2 separate regions of the Homo sapiens genome follow, and region 1 is linked to region 2. The links are contacts of gene promoters, found by promoter capture Hi-C in blood cells and fetal thymus (Javierre and others, 2016). All regions are on one chromosome and are shown on one strand. Each heading gives the region's core, a stretch centred on a gene start or on the middle of the fragment in contact. The rest is flanking DNA. Distances are from core to core; before and after follow the strand shown. Region 1 overlaps ST3GAL5 (ST3 beta-galactoside alpha-2,3-sialyltransferase 5). Region 2 holds the start of POLR1A (RNA polymerase I subunit A).

What was found. The method cuts DNA at HindIII sites, captures the fragments that hold promoters and counts their contacts. A CHiCAGO score of 5 or more calls a contact.
Region 1: a contact is called between a fragment that was not itself captured here and the fragment with the promoter of POLR1A in region 2, in 16 of 17 cell types (total B cells, naive CD8 T cells, naive B cells and 13 more). The highest score is 15.6, in total B cells.

What each region holds. Positions count from the first base shown.
Region 1 is chr2:85,863,184-85,867,545 of GRCh38, forward strand. ST3GAL5 (ST3 beta-galactoside alpha-2,3-sialyltransferase 5) reads right to left here. Exons shown (of 7, transcript NM_003896.4): 2 at 179-302. Among named protein-coding and RNA genes, the nearest start is that of ST3GAL5, 24 kb to the right of the region's middle. The HindIII fragment of the contact is 820 bases long and covers 1,939-2,758 here.
Region 2 is chr2:86,103,562-86,107,944 of GRCh38, forward strand. POLR1A (RNA polymerase I subunit A) reads right to left here and starts at 2,325. Exons shown (of 34, transcript NM_015425.6): 1 at 2,139-2,325. The coding sequence starts at 2,215. It overlaps PTCD3 (pentatricopeptide repeat domain 3), which reads left to right and starts at 2,674. Exons shown (of 24, transcript NM_017952.6): 1 at 2,674-2,790. The coding sequence starts at 2,687. RefSeq lists enhancers at 1,845-1,934, 2,135-2,344, 2,725-2,984. The HindIII fragment of the contact is 4,349 bases long and covers 1-3,053 here.

The DNA of each region.
Region 1 (4,362 bases), core at 1,099-3,598, 240 kb before region 2:
TCACTCCGGCTGTGCACTCAGTCTTTACTCAGACGTGCCTTTGAATGTCTGAGGCATCCTTTGACCAAGCATGCCTCTCCAACATTAGCCATCTTGAGGGCTCTCACTGAATTTTTCTCCTAGTTCTACACAGTTGACCCAAAGCAGGGGGATCTACAGTCCCAGGGGCGGTACTTACTTGAGGATGTCTTTTAATAACAAGCTGGGCCTTCTCATCTTGCTTTGAGCTCGGGTGTACCATTGCAGGGAAGGCCTCGAGCAATCACTTCTCAGTTTCACATAGGTGTACTCACTTGGCATTGCTGTGAAGAGAGGCGAAGAGGGCAGTGGGGAAAAAGAGAGGAGAGAGTTAGGAGGATGGATTATGGTTTTCAAAGAGCCTTTATATGTTGCATCCATACCATGGAATAGTAACTGGCAATAAAGAAGAATGAACTGTTGTTACATGCAACAAAGTGGGTGAATCTAGAGGGAACTATGCTGAGCTGATACCAAAATGTTACATACTGTATGATTCTCAACATTCTTTTTTTTTTTTTTCTGAGACGGAGTCTTGCTCTGTTGCCCAGGCTGGAGTGCAGTGGCGTGATCTCAGCTCACTGCAACCTCTGCCTCCTGGGTTCGAGTGACTGTCCTGCCTTAGCCTCCTGAGTGGCTGGGATTACAGGCGCATGCCACCATGCCAGGCTAATTTTTGTATTTTTAGTAGAGACAGGGTTTCACCCTGTTAGTCAGGCTGGTGTCGAACTCCTGACCTCGTGATTCACCTGCCTCGGCCTCCCAAAGTGCTGGGATTACATGCATGAGCCACTGCACCCGGCTGATTTTTAACATTCTTAAAATGACAAAATTATAGAAAGGGAGAACAGACTAGTGAGTGTCAGGGGTTGTGGAAGGGGAGGTAGATAGGTAGATATGGCTATAAAAGGGCAACACGAAGGACTCTTGTGAGGATGGAGATGTTCTACATCTTGACTGTATCCATGTCAGATTCCAGCTGTGATATGGTACTATAGTTTTGCAGGATGCTATCATGGGGGAAAATGAGTAAAGCATACACAAAATCTCTCCAGATTATGTTTTACAACCGCATGTGAATACAATTATCCTAAACTTTAAAGTTTATTTTTTTTAAAAAGGACCTTTTACCTTTTAGAGCTACATACAGAAATATCTACAGATCAAATAGCAAAAATGAGATCTGCTTCAAGAACTCAGGAAGGGGATAAGTGGAGGGCCAGGGAGAATAGATAAAACTAACTTTAAGCTGATAACTTACTAAACCTGGGAGATGGGTCTAGGGCTCACTACACAATTCTCCCCACTTCTGTGTATGGTTAAAATTTATATAATAAAAAAGTTTAAAAAGAAAGTTACATTAAAAGCAGAAGTGTTACATCAAAAAAAAAAAAGAAAAAGAGAGAATATGGCAATTTAAAAACACTTTTCTTAAAAAATATGTTGTGTGCCTGCCTATTTATTCTTTTGAAATAATTTTATTAGCAATTTTCAAGTTCTAAATAATATTCCAATAGTACTGTAGTAGGGATTGGTCCGTCTCCCCCATATTCGCTTTCCCCTAACTCAACTTAATACAGCTCTGGATTTTTAGTGGGGCATAGTACCTCCCAGAATGAAGACTACATTTCCCAGTCTCCCTTGGAGCTAGGACTCAAGACTAAGTTTTAGCCAATGGGATATGAGCAGAAGCATCCTGTGCAATTCTCAAGGTGCTTCCCTTGGCATACTCTGGCTTCTCCTGTATCCCCTCTGCCTCCTGACTGAAATATGGACCATGATCTGCCACTCTGGACCACACAGAGAGGACATTACTCAAGGATGGTGGAACAACAAGAGAAGGAGCTGGGGCCCCTGGGACAATCCCATAGGGCAGAGAGCTGCCACTCTACTTCTGGACTGGTCTATGATAGAGGAATAAGCTTCTGTCTTGTTTAAGGAATGGTTAATTAAAGGCAAAATTATATCTTAACTAATATAGGCACTAGTTACTATTATAATAAATGCATATATTAATTTAAGAAATAATGTCTTCACTATAGTTTTTAGTTGGATGGAAGAAGTTATATCTCATTCATTATTCACTTCATTTTTCCCGTTAGGGTTTTACCATCTTCTTTGAAAAAAATCTGTTTATCTTAAACTAAACAGGCATTCAAGTTTTTTTTTTCTGCTACTGTAAACAATCTCTTCCTTAACTCCTTAATTCTAATTCTGTGTAGCAAGAGTTTTTATCATTATGTATAATTCTATCAAAATAGTTTCAATAAGTGTTGAGGGCCTTATTAATAAACCTTTGCTGAAGAATCTGCTGAATTATTAAATGAGAAGTTAGAACAACTGAGATCCTGGAAGGTTTTCAAATACCACAATTCTGTGGTTACTTCATGTACAGTCAGCCAAGTGGTGGGAATCAGCAGGCTACCTGTAGCCTGTGCATATTTAAAATGGAAACTTCTGAGATGACTGGAATGATACTCAGTTCACACCAAAGTGGACCTCCAGAGAACAAAGATGACTGTGGTAAGAGTATGAGAAAGACTCCAGGGCTTCCGCCTCCAGGTGCTCTGTTGCTGAGCCAGACAGTGCTCTGGCTCTTGTTCTACTCTGCCCGTCAGACTATAAGCCTGTAAATATTTTCCGAACTCTCTCTTACCAGCTGGCTTCTCGTAAAGTTGTGATCCTAGGATGTGCTGGTGAAAGACTGGGAGGCAATCTTTCTTTTCCCCTGACTTGGTGAAGCTTTGGATAGCAGTAGTAGCAGGCAAGGGAAGGTGTCTACATGTGACTCCTGCAGCAGTCGTGTGCATTCGGATTCTTGGGTTTTTAGGCAGCAGATGCTGTGGCACTTCCAGTAACTTTGTGACAAGTACAAGCTTCAGACTAGGGGTGACAATGGCTCCCTGAAGACCAAATCCATCTCTCTAATGTGGACCTCTCACCTAAGCCCAGACCTGTATACCTAATGTCTTGTTTGCTATCTTCACCTCAAGCAACATTCCTAAATGGAACCTGGCATTTTCTTCTATTCCTTTCATTCTTTGGTATCTGAACCATCTGTTCAGCCATAAGATGAAAACCTGCAGGTCAACCAGACTTTCATTCTCAACCCCAGTCAATCCCCAGGGCCTGCCAATAATACCTCCTGAATTTTTCCTGTTCACTACATGCCTTTAATAGAAGTCACTTACCTCGAATGCCCTGATCTCAATTTTATCGCCTCAAAGCCGTCTTTCAAAAATACATATCTGCCTACTGGTTCCCAGCTTATTTCAGATTCTGTGACTCCATGTGACAAACCTGTCTATCACACTGCACAAAGAAGTACTGTTAGAAACCTGGATGTGCCAAATTGTTACTTCAGTGCCTTTGCACAGGATGTGCTCACAATCTGGAATCCCACCCAATAATCTGCCTGCTGAGCTACTTTTCATCCTTAAACCCAGCTCAAGCATCTCTTTCCTTATCTCTGAGGTCATTTTTCACCACCACATCCATCCCTGGGCACGTCCCTATCTCTGTTTACCACAATGAACTGAATTTTCTTTTGCAGACTCCTGGAGGAATGAGCTGCAGAGCCAGAACTCTGTTCACCTTTGTATCCCTAAAACCTAGGACAGAGATTGGCACACAGCAGCCCCTTAAGAAACATCTCGAATGGAATGAAATGTGCATTACATGTTTGTAGCCTGTCATCAAACAAGATAAACTTCCAAGAAAAGCATTTTCTCAATACTGATTAAGAGTAAAACTAAAACTGAATGTTAACAGAAATTATAATGGCAAGAATAAAGCATAAACTCTATTGAAACATCTAAAATGGCTGGGTGTGGTAGCTCACACCTTTGGGAGACGGGGATGGGATGATCACTTGAGGCCAGGAGTTTGAGACCAGCCTGGGCAACACAGTGAGACCCTGCCTCTACAAAAAAATAATAATAAATGAAACATCAAAAATGTCCAACAGCAGGAAATTTGTTGGTAAATTACAGCACAAACTACATGAATACTCTACAGTCCTTAAGATCTTGCTACACAGCAGGGTCTCTGACTGACAGCATCAGTGTAACCTGGAAGTGGGTTAGAAATGCAGAGTCTCAGGCCCGCCCCAGTCTTGCTGACTCAGCATTTTAATGAGATCCTGGGACATTCATATGCATATTAAAGTTTGAGAAGCACTAGCTTAAAGTACTCAGTACTTCACATTTATTGACACTGAAAAATATAAGAAAAAGGCAGTTTTATAAAAATCTATGCATCTACACATGTAGTTACCTCCTGGGATATATCTATTAAAGGTATGTGCTCTGTGGTGGGCAGGCATATGCAAACCCACCCCCAAAG
Region 2 (4,383 bases), core at 1,075-3,574:
AAACACTTCTGCTTTTGGATGAAATCGTATCCACTTATGGCAGTGATGATATAATTGGAATTTCTGGGCTAGCACACTGTTACCAATGATACCAGAGCTGTGGCTCAGGAGTTTATTCATCCATTTATTCAGACTTGAGGATAAAAGACAAGAGTGACACATATAAGAAGCTCAAGGATAGTGGAGGAAGACAAATATACATAAGCACAAAAAGTCACTAAAGCACCATGACAGACAACTGTATCATGTGCAAAATGACCTCACAAAACAAGGGAGGTGAACTGAGCTTTCAGGTGTGTATGTTGGGTAGGGGACAGAGGGAAGTACCTCCTTTTGGCTGAAAGGACACTGCATGCAGAGGGAATAGCTTAAAGAAAGGCCCAGATGTTGAAATATGATGGCGGTTTCTGGAATATGCAGGTGGTTTAATAGGGCTGAAGAAGGGATGATGTTATAGCTAAAATCAGCATTGGTCTGATCATGGGAGACTTTGCAGGCTATGCTAAGAAAATATACTTTATCTGAGGGAAATGGAGAACATTTGGAGGGTTTTAAGGGTGACAGTAGCATGACTACATTTGCACTTTGCAAGAATAATTTTGACAGCAGTGTGGAGCATGCACTTGAGAGGTGTAAGGGGAGGGTGGAAGGAAAAGACAATTCAAATATGAGATAAGGGCCAGAGGCAACACAGTAGCAATTGGGAGAAAAAGGAGACTAAGAACAAATAGACATGTAGGTGACACAAAGTAAGAGCCCAATAAATAAGTTATATGTCAGGAGAGATCTAGAATAATTTTCCAGTTTCTAGTGACTATTTTGCACTACGTACACCATTTTGGAGGGGTAAGTAACCCCTCCCTTTGAAGAGGGATGCCGTGTTGAGTTTTTTTTTTTTTTTTTTTGAGACAGAGTATTGCTCTGTCGCCAGGCTGGAGTGCAGTGGCACAATCTCGGCTCACTGCAACCTCCGCCTCCTGGGTTCAAGCGATTCTCCTGCCTCAGCCTCCCGAGTAACTGGGACTACAGGTGCCCGCCACCACGCCCAGCTAATTTTTGTATTTTTAGTAGAGACGGGGTTTCACCATGTTGGCCAGGGATGGTCTCGATCTCCCGACCTCGTGATCCGCCGGCCTCGGCCTCCCAAAGTGCTGGGATTACAGGCGTGAGCCACCGTGCCCGGCCATGTTGAGTTTCTGATATGCATTTAGGCCATGTTGAGTTTTTGATATGCATTTAAGATCTCTGTGTGAAATTCAATTAAAGATGTACAGACAGCTGAACAAATGGGTCTGAAAATCAGGGAAATAAATTTGCGTTGGGGATTTAAATTTGAGACTATAAATCATGAAAGTGGTGAGATTGTCTAGGGACAATATTTACCATGAAGAAAACATTACTAGAATAGAATCTTGAAGAACATCAACATTTAAGGAGTAAAATGAGGTACAGACCTTGCTCACCAATGTGTCATTAACGCCTAGCTTGGTGCCTGGAAAAAACTGGATGCTCAATAAATGTTTGTGAGGTTATAGATCGATAGAGGAAGAGAGGGAGGTAGAAGTATTTGTCATAAAAATAGGAGAACTTGAAGACAAATAAGGTTCTGGAAGAAAGGAAAGTTTCAAGAGAGTGCATTGGAGAATGTCAAATGCTACCTTGATCAAAATGAAGACTAAAGAGAGTTCCCTTGATTTAACAACCAGACCGAGAATATAGCAGGGTCCTAGCAAAGAGAAGTTAACGCCTGAACTGACACTTGAAGGACAATCATTTTACAAACAAGAGGAAACTTACTACGTGCCTAATTAACCATGTCAGGTACACTATGGTTAATTCCACAAATGCTTGTTAGTTAACGAGGAGACTGGCAGATGATAACGCTGCAGACCAGGACCCTCCCCACCCTTATATTCCCCTACCTCAGCGCAAACTCTTTCCCCCAGCACCACCGGCCTCTTATCCAGGCAGTCCACGCCGGCCCAGGAACGTTCCCAGAACTACGGCTCCCAGCAGGACAAGCGCCAGACAAGCCTGGACTCAAGAGGATAGACTGGGCAAAAGCGCTTCTGGGAATCGTAGTTTAGGGCGCCGACCTCAAGATCCAGGCTGGGCACGCTACCCGACCAACTCCTTACTTGAGCTCTTCAGCCGAATACATCCCGAAGGAAATGCCCTGCAGCCGCCGCCAGGGCATGTTCTTGGAGATCAACATCCTCCAGGTCCGTTTTGAATTCCGACACCCCAAGAGACGTTCCACTCACCACCTGACTATTCTTAATTCAACCTCAAGCCCGGAGTCACCACGCGATTCAACGTGCGCTTGCGCGCGGAAGCGGTCGCAGGAACGACATTTACGTGGATGAGATCACTTCTACATGGGGGGGGAACAAATAGTTGTACGACTCTCTGCTCGCTCTTTTGTTTTGAAAACAATCAAAGATATATAAGACATCAAAATAATCATTTAGGAAAATTCCTCCGAGGCAAATCGGGTGTATAGAGCTTTTAGCTTCCGTGACGAAGTCTTTCAAACCATGAGCTTGCAACCTCCCATTTTATGATTGCTTTCGTCTTCTTCCGCTTCAGCCAATAGCGGAGCTGTTCCCTGCTCCCCGCCCACTGCGCCCCACCTTCCTGAAGGTCGAGGCACGCTTTCCCAACATGCTCTGCAGAGAAATCAAAGATGGCGGTTGTATCTGCTGTTCGCTGGCTGGGCCTCCGCAGCAGGCTTGGCCAGCCGCTGACGGGTCGGCGGGCGGGTTTGTGTGAACAGGCACGCAGCTGCAGGTAAGAGACGCTTAGGGTATCCGCGAAGAAGACCGCGGAGTCACCTTAGTCCTATGTTTCCCAGCTGGCTGTGGAAGTAGGCACGATGAAATGGTTTGCTCATGCGCGCCCTTAACGGTCGCGTGCCCTTAAGACCAGGTACGCGGAGGTGGCCCTTTGAAATAGGATTCGCAACGCATTTATTCATTAGAGAAATACTTATTGGTTGCTTGCAATATTCTGTAGTTAACACCATCCGCAAAGCTAGGACCCTGCTCTCATGAAGCTTGCGTTCCAGTGAGTGTGGCTATTAGCAACACTACCCCAAATTAAAAATTATCCGCCATTACTCATTTTAACCCAATCAGGAGGAGCGAGGAGAACGTACAAGATCTTCCCAAATAAAAGGCAGTCTCTGGTCGCCACCGTGGGGACTTTGGCTAAAGAAGTTATCAGGTTTTCGTAAAAGCAGAAAAGTCTAAAAGATCTGACTATGCCCTTTTGATCTGTGATAGTTATAGCTTGGAACATGTATGACCTATCTGTGTAATTTTTTTTTCACTCAGTACAAACAGTGGCATTGTGGGAATATGAGAGGCAGTAATTTGTAGTGAAAACTTGCTAAAAGCCTAATTTTAGGTTTAGTGTTTGCCATTCACTTAATTGGATGATAATAGACAGATTTCCTCATCTGCAGACTAGAGTTGGTAATAACCATCCGAAAAGTTTGTGAGGTATAAGTGGGGTATGTAATTTACAATATGTTTTTATATGTACTCTCCCTTAGTTCCCCTCAAGAAAGAGAAACCACTCCATCTGATACTGCAGAAACCTTTGTGCTGCCATTCAATGCCAGTCCTCCGTTTCCTGGTAGCCATCGTTAGCATTTTTCTACTCATTTTCTTTGCCTGAAGCAGAATCTCTTCCTCAGCATCCGTTCTCAAAATAACTGTGATCTCTGTTTTAAGGTCATGAGAAACAAATAGTGTGACTTGAAAGAGTTGATCTCAGAAACTTGAAAGAGTTGATCTCTTTCTGAAATGTCCTTAACGTAGAGGGGTATTCTTGTTTTAAATGATACCTGAAACCAGATACTACTGGAGGAAGTATCTGTCTGTGCAATCACATCTTGACAATTTTCTGAATGTTACTGATGCCATTTAGTAAGGGGAAACACAAGATAATACTAACCGTCACATTATCTGTGGTGTGTTGACTGTGTTTTTAGTGTGATCAGAACACTTAAACAGAACACTTAAAAACTCAGTCATGGGCCAATGATTCTATATTTTGGTTTAAAAAGGATTTCATATTGAACCTCTGAAAATAGAAAATATCAGCAATTCCAAGTCTAAATCAGGCCTTATGTATTTGGTACATTCTTGATTGTTGAAAGAAGTGGAATGAGAAGCCATGGGTCATCTTCCCTATGTTGTAATTGCTTTAAGTGAGGTAGTCCTTTCTGATCAGGGCAGTATCTGTATAGAAGCAAGAGCTCACTGAATTGTTCTTTTAAACATCATAGTGTTTTGGGTTCCTGAAGTTGAAAGTTCTTCATTTCAAACCAGATTGTTCAAGTGCTATTAAAAACTTTCCTCCCTCTCTGCCATTTAT